Regions from separate parts of the Homo sapiens genome. Here regions 1, 2, 3, 4 and 6 are each linked to region 5. Evidence: promoter capture Hi-C in 16 types of primary human blood cells and fetal thymus (Javierre and others, 2016). All regions are on one chromosome and are shown on one strand. Each heading gives the region's core, a stretch centred on a gene start or on the middle of the fragment in contact. The rest is flanking DNA. Distances are from core to core; before and after follow the strand shown.

Region 1 (4,587 bases), core at 1,882-4,381, 250 kb before region 5:
TTAGTTTTCCCATTTAATGAAAACATACACATTCTCTTATTTTTAGTTAACAAAGAGAAATTGATTTACCACTTTAGGGCAAACTATGTGCTCTCTGGGCTAGAATCAGGAGGGTGGATGGTTTTGCCTTCTTCCTATAGACTGCCTGTTGATTTAATCTTACTTGACCAGGGAAATTTTCAGAGCGGGAGGAGGGAAGACAAGTCTTGTAAATCCTAAGTGCTGGCTCTAGTTCTCTGCCTTGAGTAGCAAAGAAAATCTCCATTCAATTTTCAAATAAGCCCTAATTTAAATCTTTTATTTTATATATTCAATTTCAAAATGATTACGTATTGGCCATTATGGAATTTGGTACCTCCAATCAGTCCACTCATTGTCAAATTCAGGGACAGGAATCGCTGTTGTTTATCTTCCTTAATAAAGATGAAAGGGAACCTGCTTCTCTTCACTGAGTCTCTCTTTTATACCACAATAATCACATATCCACAAACAATTCAATTACCAAATGAACATTTTTTATGGCTACTCTCTGCCTCTTAAGGCATTCCTCAAAGTTTAGGTATAATTTCAAGTTTGTACCTAAATGGAAGACTTTCTAGACTTAATTCTTGATCTCACTTAGATTGGCCTTTTTTTTGGTTGTTGTTACAAAAATGTCTTTTTCCATGAACAAGATTCTTTGAATCTGTCAGTCATTAGCAGATATTTTCTCTTGTACCTATTTTTAAAAATTATTTGTGCATATTTTCCTATTTTATTATCTTATTACTGTTGGGATCCACCAGTACTTTACTGAAGCTCTATTAGAGGCTACTGGTGGTGGATGGCTGCTCAACTCTCTCTCAATCACTCTCCATTGGAGACACTTTTGAGGAAACAAACAATTCAGCAAGATAAAAGAATAATTTTCAGACCAAATAAATTTGTGGGAACTTTGTGACTTCAAAACAGAAATTTTTAACCCTTCATGGGTTCCAGCAGCCTTAGGGAAGCTGATAAATTGTGGACTCACCAAGAAAAATGCTCTATTGCTCACAACTTTTCCTACAACATTTCAGAGATGCGTGGACACTCTGAAACATATCTGTTGATTCCCTGGGGATCCATGAACACCACATTAAATTTTTCTACTATAAAGTTTATTCACCCAGAAAAAATGATGTTTTTCTGCATCGTGAAATGATGCATTTAATTTAATCGAAAAAGTAAGAGATTTATGTATGCATTAGATAAACCAGGTTTTAAGTGGTGTAAGGTTTGAAATTATGAGAGGCCCATTTTATTTAAAGCAGACTACAAGAAGATAGTCAAGCCTCACATAGGCTGAAGCTTTCTAACAGAAGACCCTACATGATTTAAACAAGATTGATGAGTTCATTTACAATGTAAGTGCACTAACCCCATTCCTAAAACAGATTCCATATAATAAACCATAAAATATGTATTATATTTTATTTCCTGTGTTTACAGCATGCTAAGAGAACAACAGAAACATTGTTGCTGTTGAATGTATTCAATACTGTCCTGCCCCTCTTAGGTAAATATGACAAGAATCAGAGCATTACATTATAATAAGACATTTTCCCACCAGTCTAGTCTACAATGGCATACTTTGTACATTGTGCTGCTGTGGTCATGGAATGCAGATTTCTGTCCCTTAATTCACCCGCACTGTACTTTGAGAATGCAAAATATGTGTATCACCAGCATTCTTTTCTTCCAGGACCTGCCAGACATTATTATGACTGAGTATATTTTAATTATAACCAAAACTCTATTGTTTTCTTTGTTTGCAATTTTATTTCCACACATATAATAATATCACTTAAAATAATTGTATGGGACCTCGAGGGGGATACAGTAAACAATATTACTCTCCCATATGGTTCTGAATCAACTGAGAAATAAGACAATGAGTCTGCAGATAGAGGTCAAAATATCACCTTTATTAATAACAAAGTAGACATGATCTTACAGATAATGCTTTTAATGTTTCACTATTAAAGATGATGTTTGCTATGCGGTTTTGGTTTATAATCACTTTAATAGCTTAAGGAAGTTCTTTTCTATTCCTGGTCTGCTGAGATTTTTTTCAAAAAATTACAAACAGACATGAATTTTCAATAAAATAGATGGCATTCCTGCATCTCTTAAGATGATTATGTGATTTTTCATTTTCTGTTCCTGTGGTAATTTACATTAATTCATTTTTTAATGTTAAATCAACTTCAAGGCTGGCACAGTGGCTCATGCCTGTAATCCCAGCACTTTGGGAGGCTGAGGTGGAAGGATCACTTGAGGACAGGAATTCGAGACCAGCCTGTGCAATACAGCGAGACCCCATCTCTAAAAAAAATTTTTTTATATTAGCCAGGCATGGTGATTCATGCCTGTAGTCCTAGCTACTCAGGAGACTGAGGCAGAAGGACCACTTGAGCCCAGGAGGTTGAGGCTGATTGCACCATTGCACTCCAGCCTGGGTGACAAAGAGAGACCCTGTCTCTAAAAAAATTAAATTAAATTAAAAAATAAAAATAAAAAATCAACTTTGAATTACTGGGATAAACTTTACTTTGGTCATGATATAAGGTATAATCTTTTAAATATATTGTAATATACAATTTGCTAAAATTTTGCTTAGGAGTTTTGCAACTATGTCCAAGAGTGAAATTATCTTTTTTGCCGGGGGCAAATTTTAGTTTCAAAGTTATATTTACATCACTAAAAAGGTTGAGGTACTTCCTTTTGTTCTAGTATAGTCAAAGTTAGCATTTTTTTCCTTAATTGTTTGATAGTATCTGCCTTAAAATCATATGTCTGGCTTTATAGAAATATTTTTAAACTATTCATTTAATCTCATGCTTATATGTGTGTTTATGTTTTTCTATTTCTTCTTCAACTTGGAAAATTATATTTTTCTAATAACTTTTCATTTATCTACATTATCAGATTTAATGGCATAAAATTTTCCATAGTATTTTCTTAAAAATATTTAAAACAGCCGGGCGCGGTGGCTCACGCCTGTAATCCCAGCACTTTGGGAGGCGAGGCGGGCAGATCACGAGGTCAGGGAATCGAGACCATCCTGGCTAACACAGTAAAACCCCGTCTCTACTAAAAATACAAAAAAAATAGCCGGTTGTGGTGGCAGGCGCCTGTAGTCACAGCTGCTCGGGAGGCTGAGGCAGGAGAATGGCGTGAACCCGGGAAGCGGACTTTGCAGTGAGCCGAGATCGCGCCACAGCACTCTAGCCTGGGCGACAGAGTGAAACTCCGTCTCAAAAAAAAAAAAAAAAATTAAAACATATATTAGTTTTCTATTGCAGTGTAACGTTACCACAAATTTAGTGGCTTATAGTAAAATTTATCATATGATTTTTTTGCTTTATCTTATCTTACAATATCTTAAAATTTATCTTACAATTTTTCTTTACTATTACAAGTGAAAATTATCTCACCATTTCCATGGGTTGGGAGTCTGGGTATGAACTAGCTGAGTCTTCTGCTCAGTCTCACTAGGTGGAAATCAAGGAGTCATCTGGGGCTGCCATTCTCATCTGAGGCATTGGTCTTCTTCCAAGCTCACTGGTTGCTGGCAGAATCATTTTTTTGCAGTCGTATGACTTACTAGCTGTCATCTGGGGATTGGTCTCAGCTCCTAGAGTTCCTGGCCACACGGCCCCCACAGGCAGTTCACAGCATGGATGTTTGTTTTCTTCCAGGCCAGCAGGAGCATATCACTGTGACTTACAACCCTTCTCTAGTCTGCTACAATGGAATCTTAAACAAGAAAATTTTATATTTTGACTTGCATCATTGAGAAAAACACTGCCAACCTGATCGTGGTTCCTTTGAAGGTAATCTGCCTTTTTTTTTTTTTTTCAGGCTCCTCTTAAGTTTTTCTCTTTGCCTTTCATTTTCAGAAGTTCTAGTGATGTGTCAAGCTATGGCTTTCTTTTTATAAATAAAATATTTTGAAGATATTTAAGGCCTCTTTAATTCCAAGCTATTTTCTCTTCAAATATTGCTTTTGCTCTATCCATTCTTTCTTTCATCTTCTTTATGACATACCTTCATCTTTACCAATTCTTTCTTTCTTTTTGTTTTTTTTTTGTTTTTTGTTTTTTTTTTGAGACAGGGTCTTGCTTTGTTGCCCAGGGTGGAGTGCAGTGGCATGATCATGGCTTACTGTAGCCTTGACCTCCCGAGCTCAAGCTATCCTCCCACATCAGCCTCCTGAGTAGCTGGGACTACAGGCTTGCACCACCACGCCCCGATAATTTTTTGTATTTTTTGTAGAGACAGAGTTTTGCCATGTTGCCTAGGCTGGTCTTGAACTCCTGGACTCAAACGATCCTCCCATCTCAGCCTCCCAAAGTGTCTAGATTACAGGCATGAGTCACTCACTTTACCAGTTCTTTCCTCAGCTACATCAGCTATTGCTTTGCTTTGCTTCTTTCTTTCTTTTTCTTTCTTTCTTTTTCTGTCTCTCTCTCCCTCCCTCCCTTCCTCCCTCTTTCTTTCTTTCTTTCTTTTTTTTTTTTGAGACAGAGTCTCGCTCTGTCACCCAGGCAGGAGTGCAATGGC
Region 2 (4,341 bases), core at 63-2,562, 160 kb before region 5:
GGAGAACGGGGGTTGGGGAGATGGTTTCGGGATGAAACTCATCATCAGGCATTAGAGTCTCATAAAGAGTGGGCAGCCTAGATTCCTCACATGAGCAGTTCACGATAGGGTGCTGATCCTGTGAGAATCTAATGTCGCCACTGATCTGACAGGAGGCAGAGCTCAGGAGGTAATGCTGGCTGCCCACCACCTGGTGTGCTGCCTGGTTTCTGACAGGTACCGGTTGGTGGCCTGGAGATTGGGGACCCCTGGTCTGTAGTACTTTTTGTATTTTCTACATTCTATGCAATGCACTTATATTAATGAGTCAGAAAAGTAGGATATAACTATTATTTAAAAAGAAAAATAACTGTTGAAGTTCAGGAGCTGCAGACAGGACAGAATTAGTTTAACATATTATTTCGAAGTTTTTAGGACTAGGGATACCTTCTTCAGTTTTATCCAACTGTAGGCATTGCTGTTATTATTGGTGCATGATGAAGAGACTTGGTACTTGTGTCTTAGGGATTTTAAGGCAAATGGATCATGGAGAAAAGACCCATTTAGGTGACGGGCTTATGAAGAATGGCTATATGTAAGCAACTAGTGGACTAGGAGAAAGTAGCAACCGTATCTGAAAGTTTATAAGTGTCAACATAATAACTCAACAAAACAAACATTTTGTAATGTAAGTCACATGTAGCCTGGTCCTTGTCTTCTAGAAAGTCATATTTTAGAGTTCTAAGACATGAGATGAAGGATATTTTATCCTCTTCTGGTTAATTAAGGCCTTCAGATACTAGTCCTGAAATTCAACTTTTTTGCTAAGGTTTAAAAATACATTTTTCTCTCCAAAAGCTTCATAGAAGCCCTAGAGACTTTTTCCCCATTGGTTTTTTTTTAAATAGTTTAAAACATAATTATAAACTGTAAATTTTATTTATTCTTTTGATGGTTGAAGAAAGCAGCATATAAGACAGTGGGACAAGTATGATGAAGGCGAGTATTTCCCAAGCATCCAATAAGGGAAATTAGAAGTGAGTGGTGGAGAAAGAACATCTCAATATTTCTGAAATCTGAGAAATATGGAAGCTGATAAGTGAACAGGAATCCAGTGTTAGAGGAAAAACTTACCAAATATTTCCATATAGCAAAAATGTTGGGTTGATTTTAAGTTGGAGTTGTCCTTTGAAGTATTGGCCCATCAAAGCTGCTATTATAGCAGAGCTGTCTGGTTTTTGAGGGACAAATTGCTTCTGGTGGTGATGGAGGTGGGGGTTGAAATATGTGGGATTTGTTTCTAGGACTTGCTGTCATCCTGTGGCAATTAGTGCTAGATCAATGTTTATCTAGCACAGTGTATTAATAGAATTCTCTGTTTTAAAGAGTATAACTTCTGAACCAATTTAGGTGCTTTGTAAAGTTAGCTCTTTTATCTGTTAAGTTTTGTAGCAGGCTTGTGGTTGCAGTATTGTTACATGATTCATATTTCTAGCCTAAGTCCTTGGATCCATGAGTTTATTTATTTTGGGATTTGTAAAGAAGGCTGTGTCTCTTTTTGGCATACTTGTATATATTAGTGTGAAAAAAACATTTTTGTATACTATTTATCTGTAAAAATAATTTTAGAGGTCTTGTGTATATGGTTATATAGAATCTTTCCCCAGTAATGGAGGAGGTGGCGGGAGGTCTTTGCATGAGCTTTAGGGCTTCTAGTACATGTTACATGGTTCCATAAGACTTCACTTACAAAACACAAATTCAAAACTAAATTAAGAATTGTAAGACGGCAACTTCAGCATTAAAACCCAAGCTTGAAGCCCTGTGTAGTAACATGCCCATGAAGCCAGCCTTGCTGATTATATTAAAAGATTCTTCTCCAATGGATGAAGGATACCCATTGCTTATATATTCCTGTTGTGTGATTTGTCTTGTGCAAAATGAAAGGCTCATTCACACTGATGACATTCGAAGTGTTTCTCTTTGCTGCAACTGCTCATTGATTACCTAAGGACAGAGAAATTGTCCCGTACTCATTGGTTACATTCATAAGATGTCTAATATAAATTGTCTCATGTGCCTAACAGATGAAAGATCAATACGTGCTTTTCCACATTCATAGGGATTCTCCCCATTATATACTCTTATGTGTGGTAAATGAAGGATTATATTGGAAGGATTTTTTGTACTGATTACATTCATAGGGCTTTTCACTAGTGTGGTTTCTCATGTTTTCTAAGGGATGAAGTAATACTAAAGGCTTTCCCACCATCTTTGCATTCTATTTTGTATTCTCTTGTACACTGTAAGGGAAAAGCTGTAATCAATATGTCCCCAGTTTGAGCTCCCCAGTTTGCGCTCTCGTGTACATCAAACGTGAGTGCTTCCTGAATATTTTTCCAGTATAATCATGACAGTTACAGGGTTTTTCCCCAGTGTGAATTCTCATGAACACAATGGGAGTAGAACTTACACTGAAAACTTTTCTGTATCAATCACATTTATAGAGATTCTCCTCAGTATTCTCTTCTCTCCTCTAAGGACAGATCTAATGCTAAAGACTTGAAAATGCTGCTTACTGTCATTGTGCTTTATTCTAATGTGAATTATAATATGTATCCAAAGGGATGAGTGATAACTGAAGGCCTTCTGCAGTCCTTACATTCATAAGGTTTATCTCCATTTTGTATTCACATGTACCTCAGAAATTAAGAGTTACTACTGAAACATTTTTCATATTAGTTATATGCAGAGCAGAAAATTCACCAGTTTGAATTTTCTTGTGTTGAATAAGGTTAGACCTTGCACTGATGATATTCATTGAGTGTTTCTCTAAGATGACTTATCTCCATTTTTGCACAATTGTGTTGACTTTTACATTTTACCTAAAAATGTCCTACTTAAGATTTGACCCTTTGATTTTTAAGTAGAACATACAAATACTTGGGAAATTTCATCTTCTGTCATCAACTCATCTTCTTTCTCTAACCAAGAGATCAAACGGAGTTTGCCCATATGATGCCTAAGTGATACCACGTTGGTAGTTCTCCTGTATCTCATTCCTGTGCAGGTTTCACTGAGATGAGTCCAGTAAAGCCCTCTTCATTGAAGGTCACTGAGTCCTGTGATTAGCTTGTCAGCAGCCAGGCAGCCAACACTCCCTTTCTTGCGTTTCCTGTTTGGTGACAGGGAGGGTCCTGAGCAGACCAAATGCTAGTTAAGGGCAGATAAACAACTGCCATCCTGTGAGTTTGACTGTAAATCTTGAAATTCAGAGCAGTGGGACTCAAACATACCCTCTTTTTGTTCTCACAGTCCATTTGGGGCAAGGATCTTAGACTTTTTAGGTGGCATCTTCCCACTGAACTGTGATTTTTCAGATGAAGACAGTACTCAAAAGTTGAAATTTAGTACAATTAATAATTTTTATTGCTTCATCAAAAATATTGAAAATTAAACTTGCTTTTTTTTCTCTTCTTCCCTGTGAGTGTGTGGTGATGAAGAATACAGTGATTTATGCTAGGAGGCCAGAATTTTGCCCACTGTTGGTTTTGTGCCATCAGTGTAAATGTCAACATAGGTGGGTAATGTCTTAGAATTATTATGAAAATAGTTTTGACTTTGTGGCATTTCCTCCAAAGTGTTTGGTTTCCTGACGAGTATAAGGACAGTATTCTGAGAATCGCTGCCCTAGAGAATTGTAAGGGCTTTTCTTTTGCTTTCTAATCTTTTTCATGCAGAGAAGGCATTAAGCTTTAGTGAATTATTCAGTATCTCCTTTTTTGTGTGTGTACAATCGCTTATCCAGTTGTTGGAAATATCGTATTCAAATTACAACCCATAGAAGAGATTTTACAAGCCGTGTAGACCAATTACTAGTCATTTTTAAATGTTCCTCGTATTTCTGGCCTCAATGCAATCATTTGAATCTTATATTTATTTGTCTGCTTCCAAGTTTTTTTTTCCATATCTTTTCCCAGTTATCTTACACAGTTTGATTATGTTGTCTGACTGTGGTTTTCTTTAAGTTGATACATTTGGGTTTTGCTGTACTTCATGGATCTGTCAGTTTATGCCTTTTACCAAATTAGGGAAGTTTTCAACCATTATTTATTAAAATACATATTTTCTTCTATTCCAATGTCTTTCTCCTCTCCTTCTGGAACTTTTGTAACACAAACATGTTTTTTAAAAAATAATATCTCAGAGGTCTCTGATTCTTTTTTTTTTTTTAATTATACTTTAAGTTCTGGAGTACATGTGCAGAACGTGCAGTTTTGTTACATAGGTATACACGTGCTATGGTGGTTTGCTGCACCCATCAACTCGTGACCTACATTAGGTATTTCTCCTAATATTATC
Region 3 (4,321 bases), core at 180-2,679, 220 kb before region 5:
TTAGCAATATTTTAATACATTAAAAAAGTATTTTAATGTTCTTAGTATATTAAAAGACTATTTAAAAAATTGACATCAATGGAGATAATTTTAAACTCATTATACCACTGCAATAAGAACATTAATGACATTGTTAGGAAAAGAGTGTTGAAGATTAGTCACTGCACAAGAAAACTTGCAAAGCCTTTACATTTCATAGTGCAACACGTCATAAAAATTGAGAGATTTTTTTCAAATTTGACATCCATTTTAAAATTTTACATGACATTACTGGATGTAATAACTGGAGCCATGAAGCTGAGAAATCTTTTTTAAACTTTTTTTTTTTTTTTTTTTTTTTTTTTTTTTTTGAGACGGAGTCTCGCTCTGTCGCCCAGGCCGGACTGCGGACTGCAGTGGCGCAATCTCGGCTCACTGCAAGCTCCGCTTCCCGGGTTCACGCCATTCTCCTGCCTCAGCCTCCCGAGTAGCTGGGACCACAGGCGCCCGCCACAGCGCCCGGCTAATTTTTTGTATTTTTAGTAGAGACGGGGTTTCACCTTGTTAGCCAGGATGGTCTCGATCTCCTGACCTCATGATCCACCCGCCTCGGCCTCCCAAAGTGCTGGGATTACAGGCGTGAGCCACCGCGCCCGGCCTAAACTTTTGATGATAAAAAATGGATTTCAACTAACTACGGTAAAGACCAAATTATCTATTTTTTCTTTTTTGTGGAAAATAATATAACAAAATTTATACTTATACATGTTAGTAACATTTTTCTTTTACATTAAGTAATATTTAATTTTTATGTTAATATATTTCCTAACTGAGCCAAATAGAATTAGGATATTCTCTGGTTGTAAAGCTTTTTGTTTTTCCTGGAGTAAATCCCTTTTTCTTTTCTTGTTTAGAGAGGGGGACTTGCTGTTTCACCAAGGCTGGAGGGCAGTGGCGTGATTTTAGCTCACTGCAGCCTCGAACTCCTGAACCCAAGCGATCCTCCCACCTAAGCCTCCTGAGTAGCTGGGAATACAGGTGCTTGCCACTGCACCTGGTTAATTTTTTTTTCTAGAGACGTATTTCATCTTGTTGTCCAGGGTGGTATACTTTTTACTTTTTCTCATTTGGTTAGGTTTCTACACATCTATTTTTAATTTATTCCCAATCTCTCCAAGAAAACTTTTTCATCTTGATGTTTTAATTTTATTTTAAATAATGCTCTTAATGGAAATGTTCAGATATTCAAAAAATAGAATAGAATAAATTTTTATGTTCCCATCATTCTGCTTCAACAGTGACCAACACATCTTCAATCTTGTTTCATCTATACCCTCACCTCACTCTCTAATCTCCACTAAATTATTTTGAAACAAATTCCAAACATCATACAATTTCATTCATAAATACTTCAGTATGTATTTCTAAGATAAGAAATCTTAAAATTAGCATCACAATCACACCGTTATCTTACCTAAAAATTCTTTAAAATTTCTTAATAACTTCAAGTCCAGTCAATGTCCATATTTCCTAATTATCTTCTATATTGTGATTGGTTGATGTATCTGTAAGTCTCTTAATCTATACTGCTCTTCTGCCATATATTTTTCTTATTATTCTAACTTTTGTTGAATAAATCAGATTATTTGTCCTGAATGATGTTACATACTTGGGATTTTGCTGATTGCCTTTCTGTGGTGGTCTTTAACATTATTCTGTCCCATGTATTTTCTGTAAATTGGCAATTAGATCTAGAGGCTTATCAGGTTCATGTTTGATTTTTTTCTTCTAAGACTGCTTTATAATTGGTGTTGGATACTTCCACCAGGAAGCATATAATGTCTGACTTTCTCTCTTTTTGTGCTGTCAGCTATTAATAATTGTTAGGTCCAGGAATTCATTATGGGCTGTAAAATGTTGATATTCTAATTCTATTATTTCATCTTTGACTTTAGAGAGAAAATTCCTCTCATCAATTATTCGATTACCTACCAGTCGCTACATCAATACCTCTCCAATCACTTTGATTGTCTGAAGCTTATTCTGTCATAGATTCCTCAGCAAAAAATTCTTTTGGGTTCTTGCATACATAACAGCTTGAGTGTGATCTTTATAGTTAAAGTTCAGTTTAGTTAGATAATTCATGGCTCACCTTTTCTATCTTGACTGCCTAAAATACGTTAATCTGTTGTTTTCTGGTGTACAGCATTATTACTGACAATGTGATGACAATCTGGTTTTTTTCCCTTATCAGTGACTTTGTCTATTTGTATGGATGCCCAGAGGGTTTTTAAAAAATTTTGTTTAAAATCTTATTATTTTACAGACTATGTCTTGATAGTGACCATTCCGAATCCATTTTCTCAGGTACACAGTATTTTCTTCTTACATGGACATTCAAGTAATTTTTTTATTTTAGGAAAGTTTTTTATTGTTGTTATAGTTTTTAGGATTTCTTATGTTCCATTGCTTAAATTTTCTACTTTGGGGATTCCTGTTATGCCAGGGAGTGTTGAACCTCCACTGAAGATTGTAATCCCTTTCTTAGAATGATGTTTTCAGGGCCGGGTTGTGGTGAGTCTCTCCTGTAATCCCAGCACTTTTGGAGGCTGAGGTGGGAGGATAGCTTGAGGCCAAGAGTTTGAGACCAGCATGGGTAACATACCCATCTCTATAGAAAAAAAAAAAAAAAGTCGGTCATGGTGGTGGGAGGATTGCTTGAGCCCAGGAGTTTGAGACTGCATGGAATATGTTTATGCCATATGATCATGCCACTGCACTCCAGCTGGGGTGATAGCCTGTCTCTAAGAAAATAGCAATAATAAAAAATAGTGTTTTAAAATTCGTAAAACACAGACCGGGCTGGTGGCTCACACCTGTAATCCCAGCACTTTGGGAGGCCGAGGTGGGTGGATCACCTGAGGTCAGGAGTTCGAGACCAGCCTGGCCAAACTGGTGGAACCCCATCTCTACTAAAAATACAAAAATTAGCTGGGCGTGGTGGCACATGCTTGTAATCCCAGCTACTCGGGAGGCTGAGGCAGAAGAATCACTTGAACCCAGGAGGCAGAGGTTGCAGTGAGCCTAGATCGTGCCATTGCACTCCAGCCTGGGCGACAGAGTGAGACTCCATCTCGAATAATAATAATAATAAGACACAATACATAGGTTTAGAAAGGAAAGCAATTATATGCTGCAATGTAGTTTTGTCAAAACTACATTTGGAAAACACAGGTTGAAAAGATATTTGCACACCCATGTTCAACAGCAGCCTTATTCACAATAACCAAAAGGTGGAAGTAACCCAAGTGGCCATCAATAGATAAATGGACAAACAAAATGTGGTATAAGCATACAATGGAATATTATTCAGCCTTAAAAAGAAAGGAAATTCTGCTACAACATGGATGAAACTTGAAGATATCGTGCTTAGTGAAAGAAGCCAGTCACAAAAGGGCGAATATTGTATGATTCCACTTATAGGTGGTATAAAAGCCAAATAGTCGATAGTAGTCAAATTCATAGAGATGGAAAGCAGAGTGATGGTTGCCAGGGGCTGGCAGGAGGAGGAATGGAGAGTTATTGTTTAATGGGTACAGAGTTTCAGTTGGGAAAGATAAGAAAGTTCTGGAGCTGGATAGATGTTTGCACATAGGTCGTACTTAGTGCCACAGACACTTAAAATGATTAAAATGGTAAATTTTATGCTATGTATATTTTACCACAATTTAAAAAAACAGAAAACGCAGTTGTATATGTAACATGTATGCTTCTTTATATGTACTAAATAAAAAGTTTTATATGTATTAATAACAAGATTACACATAGGTATCTACGGTAACATGTGATCTAGTGGCAAGTCTCATAATTACCAGAATTCTGAAGTAGTGATGAGTCTAAACAATATTTTAAAATATCTGCAGCATTGGCAATGTGATGTAAAAATATCTGGTGACAAAGTCAGAGGTTCTGCTAATATTACTGTGGCTTCTTAGCTAAGGTCACAATTAAATAAAAGGATAAATTTCAGTTAGGTTAAGTGAAAATGAAGATGTAATGTTCATCCAAGTTCGCAGACCTCCTTTTTTCTAAGTAGGTATCCCTTCAGAATTTGTGGACTCTCAGATAAGAATCCTTATATTTGTGTTAGATCTTCTTTTTTTATATTTGAAATTCATTATTTTTCCTTTATCTTTTTAAAAACCTTTTTAAGATTTCTCTTTTTAAATTGAGATAAAATATACGTGCATAAAGGTGGCCAAATCAGTGAGTTTTTTACAAAATGTATGTAGTTGTATAACCAAGTATCCCAATGAAGATGTAGAACATTTCCATCATCCTA
Region 4 (4,324 bases), core at 1,825-4,324, 230 kb before region 5:
TTAAAAGTAATTTCTTGTCAACAACTTTTGTTGCTGGTATAATTGTTACATGCCAGGTTCTGGTCTGTTCTACCTTCAAGCAGTAAATCAATCACTATGATTCAGGTTTTGCAAAAGAGAAAAGATTTATTCGAAAGGACACCCAGCGAGGAGGCGGTGGGAGAACAGCTCTCAAATCTGCCTCCCCAAAGATAAAGCTTAAGGGTATTTATGGGTTAGGGAAGTGAGGTGGTCTAAGGTGTGGGGAAAGGTGGTTGCTAGTGGGGAAAAATGAAGTAACAGGTTCATTCTGCAACAGCCTAGCTGGAGTTTGTGGCATTCCACAGCACATATGTACAGAAAATGGCAGCATTAGCATGGACTGAGGATGGAGTCTTTGGCCCTCCAACATAAAAAGGCCGCCTCTCCAGCACTTGAGCAGACCCAGTTAAAAGGTCAGTGGTCTCAACCAGTTTGAACTGGACAGAAGCAGGTCCAAGTTTCTGAAAAACAACTGAAGTAACCGTTACCATGGTGACCTGTGAATGTTATCTATAAAGTAGCTGGTGAAGGTTACGTTTCAGCATTCAGTGGCATGCCCTTCAGTGATTGCAGACTTCAACTTCAGGGAGAGATAAAAAATAACAAAAAGCAAGCAACCAAAAGCAAGCAGGACAGGCAGACCTGACCAAACTAACCCCTCAGTTTTATAATTCTAATTTTAATGTTTGTATTCATTAACACAGAATCACAGCACTCCCAGGACAAAAGTGAGGGTAAAAAAACTACAAAATAGTAATAGCAGGACAAAAACATCTACTGTTGCTCCAGCACAGAGTAAGCTTTTGATTAATGATTTTTGAGAAAGGAAATGAATATTTAAACAATGTGATGTTTGTTAATCACTTTCTAACTATAAGCCCACTAACTAAAATCTGCCTGAAATTCACTTATCAAATCTGCAATATTTAATGCAAGATTAGATTGATTGTTTTAATCCTCTGAAAGTTTTGCATTACTTTGGATACTTTCCCCTTTCTGTTAGTTTTCTTTTGAGCATTTCAAGGAGTTTTAAATTCCAATTTATCTATGGATCCTTCTGCCTTAATTTCAAGCAAACAAGCAAATTATATACTATAATTCAGGAAATGAGAGTGTTCAGTGTAAGTCAATCATACAGAGAAAAAAGGCAACTTTTTCTTCAAGATTAGAGAAACCACTATCATAACATTTAATATTTCTCCATCATTTCATTGATCCTTCTGCAAAGGAAGAGAACTTTGAGACATAAATCCATCTCTTTCCTTTCTTGGTTTTATGGAAGCAACTAGATGCTTGCTTCACACCATAATGCTAAGTACAAGTAGTATAAAAATTTGAATATATAAAAAACTCACTAAAAAACCTGGAAGGAAATATAATTAAATACTGATCTAAAATTTTGAATGGAGAACTTCTGAGGCAAAAGTGATAAGTTATGAGCCCTCTGTCCCACCCCAATGTTTTATTAAGCCTGCAGTGTTTCCTTTGAAGGATGTTGTATGTAATAATCTGGATTCTGGAAAAATTCAGATCTTGCCACAGTGGGCCTATTCTTATCAACAACAAATTGGAATTTAGTGGTGTTCCTCCTGTTTGGACAAGCTGCAAGTTCTTCCCAGTTTCAAGACTACCTGTTGCCTTGTATCGGGCCCACATCAGCCCCACATCAGCCCCACATCAGCCCATTGTATTATCTCTCTGACCAGTGGTGGAGTTTGAGCTTGTGGACTTTGTCTACATCATAGAAGAAGTCATGAAGAGAAAGATGACATATCTGACTAACATCAAGTGGAAAACTTTGGTATATAAAAATAAGCCACTTCACTTATTTTTAACAAGTAACTGATTAGAAAAATGAGCAAATACAAGAGTCAACCATATATTAAATTTATGATATCAAGAGTTCATCAAAAATACCAATATCTTAAGGGACAAAAGGATAAGAACTCAATTGATAGAAGAGGAAACACCATCCAAAAGCATTCAAACTCATTAGTAACCAAACAATAGTTTTAAAACAATTACATATGATTTCTGATCCATTAAATTAAAAAAATTAAAGTATAACATCAATGCTAATACTCCATTGTTGGCTGGAAAGTAGTTTGGCAATATGTACCAAAAGCTTTCAAAATGTTTATTCCCTTTAATGTGGAGTCCCTATACTCACACAGATCCCAGAGTCCAAGGGCCTGGATTCAAATCCAGACTCCTCCATTTATCAACGATGTAAACAGGGGTAATGTAAACCAGCACATCTCGATTTCCTCATCTCTAAAATGAGAATAATCATAATAGTACTTACATTATTGGATTACTGTGATGATTAAATGAATAATAGGACTTTTGGGAACAGTGCCTAGCAAACAGTGGTACAATATAAGTTTGCTAAATGAATAGATTTATCTATTTTAAAAATTTACTTGAGGAAGCTACCAACTGAGAAAAGGATTTATGCAGAAAATTGTGTATTATAGTACTATTTATAATATTTATAATAGCAAAAAATTAAGAGCTATAATAGAGAATGATTAGCTATTTCATAGAAAATGAAATTAATGAAATGTGATGCAGTCATTAAAATTATGTTTATGAACTTTGTGTAATAATGTTGAAATCATAATTTTAAGTGAAATAAAAAGCAAAATATATACCAGCATATTTGGCATATTACAATAATTAAATTACAATAATTAAATTTTTATTTAAATTACAATAGATTTAGATTACAATAATTAAAAAGAAATTTTCTTTGCTTTGGAAGGAAGATTAGATAAAGGATTGGAAGGAAGTCAGCCAAAATGTTAAGAGTAGCTGCTTACAGATAGTGGAGCTATAAACGATTTATTTTTTAATGTTCTTCTCTATTTTCTATTTGTTTTTAAACTCAGCATTCTTTAGTTTTGTATATTTTTTAATTCACATTTTTAAGGTAGAAAGTGATACTTTGTGTAAGGATTTGGAAGGCTTAAACTCATGGTATAATTAACCAAAATACATCAAATTTAATAATTCTTAGATATACAAACTTCAGAAGTCATATTCTGAGATAATTTCTTTAAATATTAAAATTAAGAGAAAAAAAGACAGGCTCTTAAGCAGATGCAAAAATACCTATGTTACAAGCCTGCACATTCTGCACATGTATCCCAGAACTTAAAGTAAAATAAAAAAAATAATAATAAGATCATGCCAGTGGTTTTTAAACATACTTTATGTATTTAATTGAAAATCACATCTCCTTTACCTTCTTTCAGCATATATTGTACTTAAAACTCTGAACATTAGCCCTCAGAATAAGGAAATGAATAATAAAAAAAGCAAAAATAGAAAACTCTAAAATAACTGAAATAATCTAATCACATATAAGATGTAATGAATTTAATAAATGTGAACTTATATTTATATACAATTTATATACATATTGAAAATTAATCACTTAGGCTCACAAGAGAATTCGTTTTAGGATACTTTGTCTGCTCCCTTTAGGCCTTGATGGAATTAATGTCTAAATAGCTTTTGAGATTGTTATGGAAACTAAAAGGATACTGGTATCAAATATCTGGCTATGTCTTACCTACATTTCTTCTGGTCTTATTTATGTTGTCCCAGCCTCACCAAAAATTGAGATTTATGTTTAACCTTTTGTTTACCATGTGATGGACAAATTTGGCAAGTTTGTCAATTTATAATAGTATTTTCTATTGTATCATCTAGACCTTTTTTGAGGTAAATATGATTTCTTTCCCTTTTCTCCATCAATTCTAGATTTTGCCCTCTTGTAGTTTCTTCCACTGCAAATTCTCCGTATCTCTGCAATTGAGGAGCCCTGAACTACACTTCACATTTAATGATGATCTGACTGACACTTTGAGGGATTTTGCTTGGCATGCCACATTTTTACTGCTATCGAAAAGGCAAAAGTACATGCTCTGTTCACAAGGAAACTTCTCTAGCATCCACATGAGTGGGAGATAGCAGATAAGCTTATGGATCTCATATCCACTTATTCTTTCCACCTAAATACTTGATAGTTGTTTATCATCTTCCCTCCAGAGTCCCAATCTAAATTACAAATAAATTAAATATCAAACAAATCTTGGAATAGATTCCTTCTCCTGACAGTAGCCACCCCTAGAAGGTACTTTAAATAATTTGTAAAAACAAACAAAAAAATACCCATTCTGTCACCAAAAAAAAAAAAAAACACCCTAAAAGGTAGAGAGAAAACATAGTTGAAAAGTGACCAGTTACTCCACACATAGATTAGGACCTGCATATTAAGAGTGTGGTTATTTGTACA
Region 5 (4,316 bases), core at 649-3,148:
TTTAATTAGGTCCCACTGGTCCATTTTTTTTTGTTTTTGTTGCAATTGCTTTTGGGGACTTAGCCAAAAATTCTTTGCCAAGGTTGATGTCAACAAGGGCATTTCCTAGGTTTTCTTCTAGAATTTGTTTTCAATTTTTATGTTTATTTATTCTTTTTTAATTTTTTAAAATTTTGTGGGTGCATATTAGATATATATACTTATGGCGTACATGGGATGTTTTGATACAGGCATGCAATGTGAAATAAGCACATCATGGATAATGGAGTATCCATCCCCAGAAGCATTTATCTTTCAAGTTACAAATAATGCAATTACACTCTTTAAATTATTTTTAAATGTACAATTAAGTTATTTTTATTATAGTCACCCTGTTGTGCTATCAAATAGTAGGTCTTATTCATTCTTTTTATTTTTTTGTACCCATTAACCATCCTCATCTCCCCCCAACAGCCCCCACTACACTTCCCAGCCCCTCCTCCATGAGTTCTATTGTTTTGATTTTTAGATCCCACAAATAAGTGAGAACATGCAATGTTTGTCTTTCTGTGCCTGGCTTATTTCACTTAACATAATAAACTCCAGTTCCATTCATGTTGTTGCAAGTGACTGGATCTCATTATTTTTATGGCTGACGAGTACTCCATTGTGTATATGCACCACATTTTCTTTATCCATCCATCTGCTGATGGACATTTAGGTTGCTTCCAAATCTTAGTAAACAGTGCTGGAACCAACATAGGAGTGCAGATATCTCTTCTATATACTAATTTCCTTTCTTTGGGGCATATTTTCTAGGATTTTTATAGGTTGAAGTCTTGCATTTAAAACTTTAATCCATCTTCAGTTAGTTTTTATGTATGGTGAAAGGTAAGGGTCTGGTTTCATTCTTCTGCATATGGCTAGCCAGTTATCCCAGCACCATTTATTGAAAAGAAAGTCCTTTCCCCATTGCTTGTTTTTCTTGGTCTTGTCAAAGATCAGATATTTTTAAGTGTAAGGCTTTATTTCAGAAGTTTCTATTCTGTTCCATTTGTCTATGTGTCTGTTTTTGTGTCGATACCATGCTGTTTTGGTTACTATAGCTTTATAGGATAGTTTGAAGTCAGGTAGTGTGATGTCTCTGGCTTTGTTCTTTTTACTTGGGGCTACTTTTGCTATTCAGGCTATTTTTTGGTTCCACGTGAATTCAGAGTAGTTTTTTTCTAATTCTGTGATGGATGACATTGGTAATTTGATAGAAATAGTGTTGAATCTGTAAGCCACTTTGGGGAATATGACCGTTTTAATAATATTGATCTTACAATTCATGAACATGGGATGTTTTTCCACTTATTTGTGCCATCTCTGGTTTCTTTGAGCAGTGATTTGTAGTTCTCCTTGTAGAAATTTTTCACCTCTCCTTGGTTAGCTGTATTCCTAGGTATTTCATTTTCTTTGTGGCTATTGTAAATGGGGTTGTGTTCTTGATTTATTCTCAGCTTGAATACTATTGGTGTATAGAAATGCTACTAGTTTTGTATATTGATTTTGTATCCTGAAATCTTACTAAAACTGTTTATCAGCTCTATTAACCTTTTGGCAGAGTCTTTAGGGTTTTCTGCATTTTAAAATGAGCATTCTGGCTGCTGCAGGAAGATAAGAATGATCTAGTTAGGAGGCTTTGACAACAGTCCGTGAGATATATACTATGGCGTGGCCTAGAGATGATGAGAAGTGATCAGATTTAGGATACACTGTAAAGGTACAGCCAATACATCTATCTGATGTAAAATAGAAAAATAGAGGAAGTAGTCATTATTCTAAGGTTTTGGAGCAACTGGGTGAATGATAGCACAATTTAATGTGATGGGAGATAATAGATTTTGGGTGTGTTTGGAATTAAGAATTTACTTTCGGAGAACCCAGCAGAGCTGGTTGAGCTTTCAAATGTGCGGTTGTGGGTTCGGGGTTTATTGGTTGAATTCCGCTGGCTCAGGAGCCTCTGCAGAGAAAGCGTGAGAGATGGAGATGGGCAAATGGATTCATTTAGAGCTGCGGAACAGGACGCCCTCCGATGTGAAAGAACTTTTCCTGGACAACAGTCAGTCAAATGAAGGCAAATTGGAAGGCCTCACAGATGAATTTGAAGAACTGGAATTATTAAATACAATCAACATAGGCCTCACCTCAATTGCAAACTTGCCAAAGTTAAACAAACTTAAGAAGCTTGAACTAAGCAGTAACAGAGCCTCAGTGGGCCTAGAAGTATTGGCAGAAAAGTGTCCAAACCTCATACATCTAAATTTAAGTGGCAACAAAATTAAAGACCTCAGCACAATAGAGCCCCTGAAAAAGTTAGAAAACCTCGAGAGCTTAGACCTTTTCACTTGCGAGGTAACCAACCTGAACAACTACTGAGAAAAGATGTTCAAGCTCCTCCTGCAACTCACATATCTCAACGGCTGTGACCCGGATGACAAGGAGGCCCCTAACTCGGATGGTGAGGGCTTTGTGGAGTGCCTGGATGACAAGGAGGAGGATGAGGATGAGGAGGAGTATGATGAAGATGCTCAGGTAATGGAAGATGAGGAGGACGAGGATGAGGAGGAGGAACGTGAAGAGGAGGACGTGAGTGGAGACGAGGAGGAGAAGGATGAAGGTTATAACAATGGAGAGGTAGATGATGAGGAAGATGAAGAAGAGCTTGGTGAAGAAGAAAGGGGTCAGAAGCGAAAATAAGAAACTGAAGATGAGGGAGAAGACGATGCCTAAGTGGAATAATCTATTTTGAAAAATTCCTTTTGTGATTTTACTGTTTTTAGCCGTATCCCCTCCCCCACTCCAATCCTGCCCCCTGAAACTTATTTTTTTCTGATTGTAACGTTGCTGTGGGAGCAAGAGAGGAAAAGTGTACTGGGGGTTGTGAGGGAAGGGAGGGGAGGAGGGGGTGGAATAAAATACTATTTTTACTGCCACTCTTTATTTTTTCCCCCTACTTTTTCCTTGTGTCCAGTTTTTGTCCCTGTAAATGCAATAGTTAAGTACACACTAAGCATTTGTTCCTGGCTCTCAAAGAAGATGGTTTGGAGTTCTCTTATGTTTCCTGGTATTTTCCAAGTCTCAGGTTGGGTGGAAGTCCGCGGCTGGTCTCAGTTTGGTTACTCAACACCCAGAAGGGTCTGAGCACCAGCCATAGCTTTTGCTTTGATTCACATGCTTTTCGCGGAACTGCTAGAGGCATCCAACACCCTGGTTTGTAAATAGCAACCTAAAGGTGTATTTTGGCACTGGTTTGGGGACATTCCCCATCTCTCATCCCTTTTCCCCCTTCACAGATCGTGGTGGGCTTCCTTCTACAAAGAGGACTCAGATGTTACTCTTGAGAGCTTAAGAGCCAGAGAGCTGAAAATGGCAGTCTTGTGAGTTACAAGGAAAATGGATTTGGTAATAATAATTAAAAGTGAAGAAACAAACCCTCAAACTTCAACTTCTTTACAAGAAAAAAAAACTGTCCTATCTTGTTCTGTAAAATATTAGAATGCTTTGTTTTACAAAAATGATGAGAGAATTCTTCTACATGTATTTCTGTGCTTAGAACAATTTTATGGAGCCAGGTGGAGGAGCCAAGATGGCCGAATGGGAACAGCTCTGGTCTACAGCTCCCAGCATGAGCGATACAGAAGACAGGTGATTTCTGCATTTCCAACTGAGGTACTGGGTTCATCTCACTGGGGAGTGCCAGACAGTAGGTGCAGGACAGTGGGTGCAGCACACAGTGCATGACCCGAAGCAGGGCGAGGCATCATCTCACCCAGGAAGTGCAAGGGGTCAGGGAATTCCCTTTCCTAGTCCAAGAAAGGGGTGACAGATGGCACCTGGAAAATCGGGTCACTCCCACCCTAGTACTGCGCTTTTCCAATGGGCTTAAAAAAAGCACACCAGGAGATTATATCCCACACATGGCTCGGAGGGTCCTACGCCCACAGAGTCTCGCTCATTGCTAGCACAGCAGTCCGAGATCAAACTGCAAGGTGGCAGCAAGGCTGCGGGAGGGGCGCCCGCCATTGCCAAGTTAGTTGTTTGATTAGGTAAACAAAGCAGCCGGGAAGCACGAACTGGGTGGAGCCCACCACAGCTCAAGGAGGCCTGCCTGCCTCTGTAGGCTCCACCTCTAGGGGCAGGGCACAGACAAACAAAAAGACAGCAGTAACCTCTGCAGACTTAAATTTCCCTGTCTGACAGCTTTGAAAAGAGTAGTGGTTCTCCCGGCACGCAGCTTGAAATCTGAGAACAGGCAGACTGCCTCCTCAAGTGGGCCCCTGACCCCTGAGTAG
Region 6 (4,035 bases), core at 381-2,880, 180 kb before region 5:
CAGTGAGCTGAGATCGTGCCACTGCACTCCAGCCTGGGTGACAGAGTGAGACTCCGTCTCAAAAACAAACAAACAAACAAAACCAAATTCAAAATTATAGATATATAGGAGGAATTAGTTCCGGTGTTATGCATCATTGTAGGGTAAATATGGTTAACTATAATTTATTGTATATTTTCAAAAATCTAGAAGAGAGAATTTCGAATGTCCATAATACAAAGAAATGATAAATATTTGAGGTGATATACTAATTAGCCTGAGTTGACTTTTACACATTTTATACATGTATTGATATATCATTCTATACCCCATAAATATGTATAATTATTACATGTCAACTGAAAATAAAAAGACAGCATTTCTGAGTAGAAGGGGAAACAATCCTGAGCAATGAAATTTTGCAAACAGATAAACAGATAGATGTGTAATATTTGATTTTGCAAAGCTAAGAAAGAAAAATTCCAGTACAGCAGCTAGGTAGGGGAATGGGACCAAGAACTAACTGTGATGTACATTGTAAAATCCTCTGGAAATTAGGAATGAAGGGTGGGGGGGTGAAAGTTAAGAAAGAAGAATTGGTTGAAAAAATTTTTAAAAACGTTTAAATTACTTTATCCCTTCCCCCATTGCACATAGCTGTGAGAACAATCTGTTATCCACCCTAACAGAAAATTGAAAATTTATTCTTTGGAGAAACAGAGTAATTTTGTTGCAGATACACCAGGTCTACTTGAAGATATTAATACTATGTGCAAAATAGAGAGACAAAAGAAATATACGCCTTTTGAGTGCTAAGATTTCCAGATCTCTTCTCCCATTTGAATTGCAGAATGTTGGTAACCAGGTATTTACCCTCCAGGTAAAGGACTGAAAGAGTCTTAACTGATGAATCAGAGCAGCTCAAGAGGAAAGACCTAAATATATTTATATTAGGGCTTCTCAATAAAAGAATCTACCTGATTAACCAATAAAACAGCTCAAAGTTGATAAGTTGATAAGTGCCAAAGCACTCAGAATTCCAATTCATATTACAGTCTTCCACTCTAATTGTAAACAGACAACCAAGTATCACCAGACAAATGAGGAAAGCTTCCGATATAAAAGATAAAGACCAAACCAAACTAATAGAAAAAAAAAGCACTTTGGAGGAAACAGAGAATATGCAGAGAGAAGAAAACAAAAGTCAAAACCGAAAAATACTCAGAGAGATAAACTGCATCCACAAAACAAGTACAGGATGCTATACAAATGATATTATAAAACAAACAAGAGTTCTTAGAATTAAACATGATAAGAGAAATGGAAATCTCAATAGAATAGTTGGGAAATAAAGTTAAGGATATCTCCTAGGAAGTAAGAAAAAGAGCCAAAGAGACTATCATGTGGGAGGAAACTATCACCACAATATAGCCATGTGTTGCTTAACAATGGGGAAAAGTTTTGAGAAATGTGTCATTAGCTAATGTTGTCATTATGCAAATGTCATAGAGTATACTTACCACGTCTTTTAGTATTTACAACGTCTTTTAGTACTATTTGTCTTTATTCTTAGTGTGCACATATTCTGTTAATCAAGAGGGGCCATAATGTCTGATTTTGTCCTATATTTAAGTTGGATATTCACTTGGAATATCCAGCTTGCTCTCCCCTTGTAAACGCTCACAGTTGACACTACAACCCACGCCCTGTTTCTTCCCAAAATGCACAATGAAATTTTGTAGACTTAGAAAAACTCTTAAGCTAACTCAGCCTGCAGCCTATTTTTGTATAAGAATAGTTTTACATTTTTTAATGGTTGAAAAAATCAAAATAATAACATTTTATGATACATAAAATTGTATGAAATTCATATTTCAATATCCCTGCTCAATTGTTTACATTTGGTCTCTGGCTGTTTTTGTGCTACAATGGCAGGTTTGAGTAGTTGTGACAGTGACCAGGTGGCCAGCAAAGTAATGAATATTTACTAACCGGCCTTTTAAAGAAAAAGTTTACTGTAAAACCTTTTCAGTGTAATGAGACTTAAAAACTCAGCATCACAGGATGGGTATATGTCTGAGCATATCTCCTCTTTTAGCACCTTTTTGAGATCATACTCCAGAAATACACATTTACAAGCAAACACACACTCCAAACTCTCAGAAAATCACCTCTTATAGCCTCACACCATCAAAGCTTTTTGTCAAATTTTATCATGACATTTCATGGTAGTCCCCATTCTTCAGCCTTATGATTTCTGAATCATAAACTTATAGCCTATTGTTTTTCTCAATAGAAACAAAGATAATTAAAACTTACTTAGGATTTGACTATAAGAAAATGCCATCTGGGGATGTCATGTTCCAGTCTCTAGAATTACTGTCAGTGGGAAGAGTGGAAAACTAGGAAGGTGGATGATCCAGAAAAGAAGAAAATCACTAAAAACTAGTAATATCTTGATTTTCCTCACTACTATTCTATCTTCCCAAAGGTAGTACTACTAACAACCCTAGAAAAATGAAAGCTAAAATGTATTTTTTCATCATTAACTTGAAATCTGGATCTATTTTCCATAAAATTTAGTTAGAAAGGTATTTTGCTTTTGAGAGCTTCTCTTGGTGGGCCTTGAGAACATTGAGACTTAGGGTTGTCCCAATCTGAATTTGCCTCAGGTGAGATTAAGAAGTTTTGGGTGGATGCAGAGGGATAGAAGTGATAAACTATTCTCTGCCCCATTCATCTATATTGGGATTAACCTACTGAAACATTTCCCTTCGTTTACCTGGGCCATCTCTGTTCCCACAATCTGGGATGCAGATGCTGTAACCCCTCTTTTTAGGGCAGTTCTTCAGGTTAGGTATCAGTTTTCTCTACTGTGGACTCAATGATGCCAGCCAACCCCATCAGAAGGACTTCCTGGTCCTGTTTCTAGATTGCAACCAGAAGACCATTTCTTGTTCCTATAGCATTCAGGATTAAGACTTCTTGTTATATTGAGTTAAATTTTGCATAACCCTAAGAAACAAGAGGAAGGGGAAGAGGGAAAAGACCTGTTTTCAGACGTTGTTAGTGACATTAAAGAAATTTCTGAAAGATTCTGGCCTAAAGCCTAAGATCCATTGAGATAGAGAGTACAGAGAGTTAGCTGAAGGACCTTGCAATCTCTACTTGAATTTGTTGCCCTGGCTTCTACTTCCAGTTTCATCCTTTACTATCGTGACCTCTGCTGTCCTACCATAGTTTATAACTTCAAGCAAAGAGGCAGATAAATATTGGGAGCTATGGAACCTCAGGAAAGAATCACTAACCTGTCTCGCAAAGGATTAGGGGCCCAAAAGAAATATAAATCTTCCAAAGACAAAGAAGGGATGCTAGCCCCATCATAAAGTCCTTCCTCACTGTTCACTACTTTGTTTTCTGCCAGATAATTCTCAAAAACCACCTACCAGTATTCTGTATATTGAATTTGTGTGTGTTTCCTTATAAACAGAGGCAATGAGCCCTGTTCCTTCTCTCCACCTCTGCCCTTCTAAACTCCCTATCTCTCTGATCACCCAAGTGCCCCATCTCACCTACTTTGTGAACTCCCGAGACTCTTACAGGATCAAATTCTTAGAACTCCAGGATCTGTTTCTGAGTGTGGTTCTGGCCTCAAGCTGTACCCTTAAGGTACAGCTTCTAGAATTGAGTCACAGTTCATTCAAAAACGCTACGGTAGGAAATCTTAGAGCCAAAAGAGTTCCCACAGGTTGAACTCCTGATTCCGGGGGAATATTCCTGAGTTTTACCACAGGGTACCCTTCTGACTCCAATGTCTGGCCCTGAAGGCATTATGTAGGTCAGATTATAACTGTAGGCCAGGAAAGAGCCAGCTTCTAAGAAAAGAGATACAGATTTTCAGAAGTATACCCTTGTACACACAGGAGCTCTGTGGAAATTAAATACCATCTCATTCTAGGTGCTAGCATTCCAAATTCCTATCATATACTCCTGCAGACTATCCTGTCAGGGAGAAAGATGTTGCCTAGAACTTCCTCTAAAAGTGTCTATTTGTGC

Evidence for each region. Contacts are between HindIII fragments. The CHiCAGO score rates a contact against its expected background, and 5 or more counts as called.
Region 1: a fragment that was not itself captured here is called in contact with the fragment with the promoter of ANP32D in region 5 in 3 of 17 cell types (erythroblasts, endothelial precursors and non-activated CD4 T cells); the score reaches 6.2 in erythroblasts.
Region 2: a contact is called between a fragment that was not itself captured here and the fragment with the promoter of ANP32D in region 5, in 2 of 17 cell types (endothelial precursors and erythroblasts). The highest score is 6.5, in endothelial precursors.
Region 3: a fragment that was not itself captured here is called in contact with the fragment with the promoter of ANP32D in region 5 in 1 of 17 cell types (endothelial precursors); the score reaches 8.9 in endothelial precursors.
Region 4: a contact is called between a fragment that was not itself captured here and the fragment with the promoter of ANP32D in region 5, in 4 of 17 cell types (endothelial precursors, megakaryocytes, naive CD4 T cells and 1 more). The highest score is 7.8, in endothelial precursors.
Region 6: a contact is called between a fragment that was not itself captured here and the fragment with the promoter of ANP32D in region 5, in 1 of 17 cell types (endothelial precursors). The highest score is 5.4, in endothelial precursors.

What each region holds. Positions count from the first base shown.
Region 1 is chr12:48,218,204-48,222,790 of GRCh38, forward strand. It overlaps LOC102725258 (a long non-coding RNA gene), which reads left to right. Exons shown (of 3, transcript XR_001749122.3): 2 at 3,723-3,857. Among named protein-coding and RNA genes, the nearest start is that of OR10AD1, 17 kb to the left of the region's middle. The HindIII fragment of the contact is 3,609 bases long and covers 1,328-4,587 here.
Region 2 is chr12:48,308,356-48,312,696 of GRCh38, forward strand. No RefSeq gene overlaps it. Among named protein-coding and RNA genes, the nearest start is that of H1-7, 18 kb to the right of the region's middle. The HindIII fragment of the contact is 955 bases long and covers 836-1,790 here.
Region 3 is chr12:48,255,207-48,259,527 of GRCh38, forward strand. No RefSeq gene overlaps it. Among named protein-coding and RNA genes, the nearest start is that of OR10AD1, 54 kb to the left of the region's middle. The HindIII fragment of the contact is 1,169 bases long and covers 846-2,014 here.
Region 4 is chr12:48,236,912-48,241,235 of GRCh38, forward strand. It overlaps a transcript of LOC102725258 not described here. Among named protein-coding and RNA genes, the nearest start is that of OR10AD1, 36 kb to the left of the region's middle. The HindIII fragment of the contact is 1,861 bases long and covers 2,145-4,005 here.
Region 5 is chr12:48,470,661-48,474,976 of GRCh38, forward strand. ANP32D (acidic nuclear phosphoprotein 32 family member D) reads left to right here and starts at 1,899. Exons shown (of 1, transcript NM_012404.3): 1 at 1,899-2,962. The coding sequence starts at 2,005. The coding sequence ends at 2,400. It also overlaps a transcript of C12orf54 not described here. The HindIII fragment of the contact is 4,760 bases long and covers 1-2,206 here.
Region 6 is chr12:48,290,805-48,294,839 of GRCh38, forward strand. The region is part of intron 3 of LOC105369753 (a long non-coding RNA gene); the gene reads right to left. Among named protein-coding and RNA genes, the nearest start is that of H1-7, 36 kb to the right of the region's middle. The HindIII fragment of the contact is 1,086 bases long and covers 1,088-2,173 here.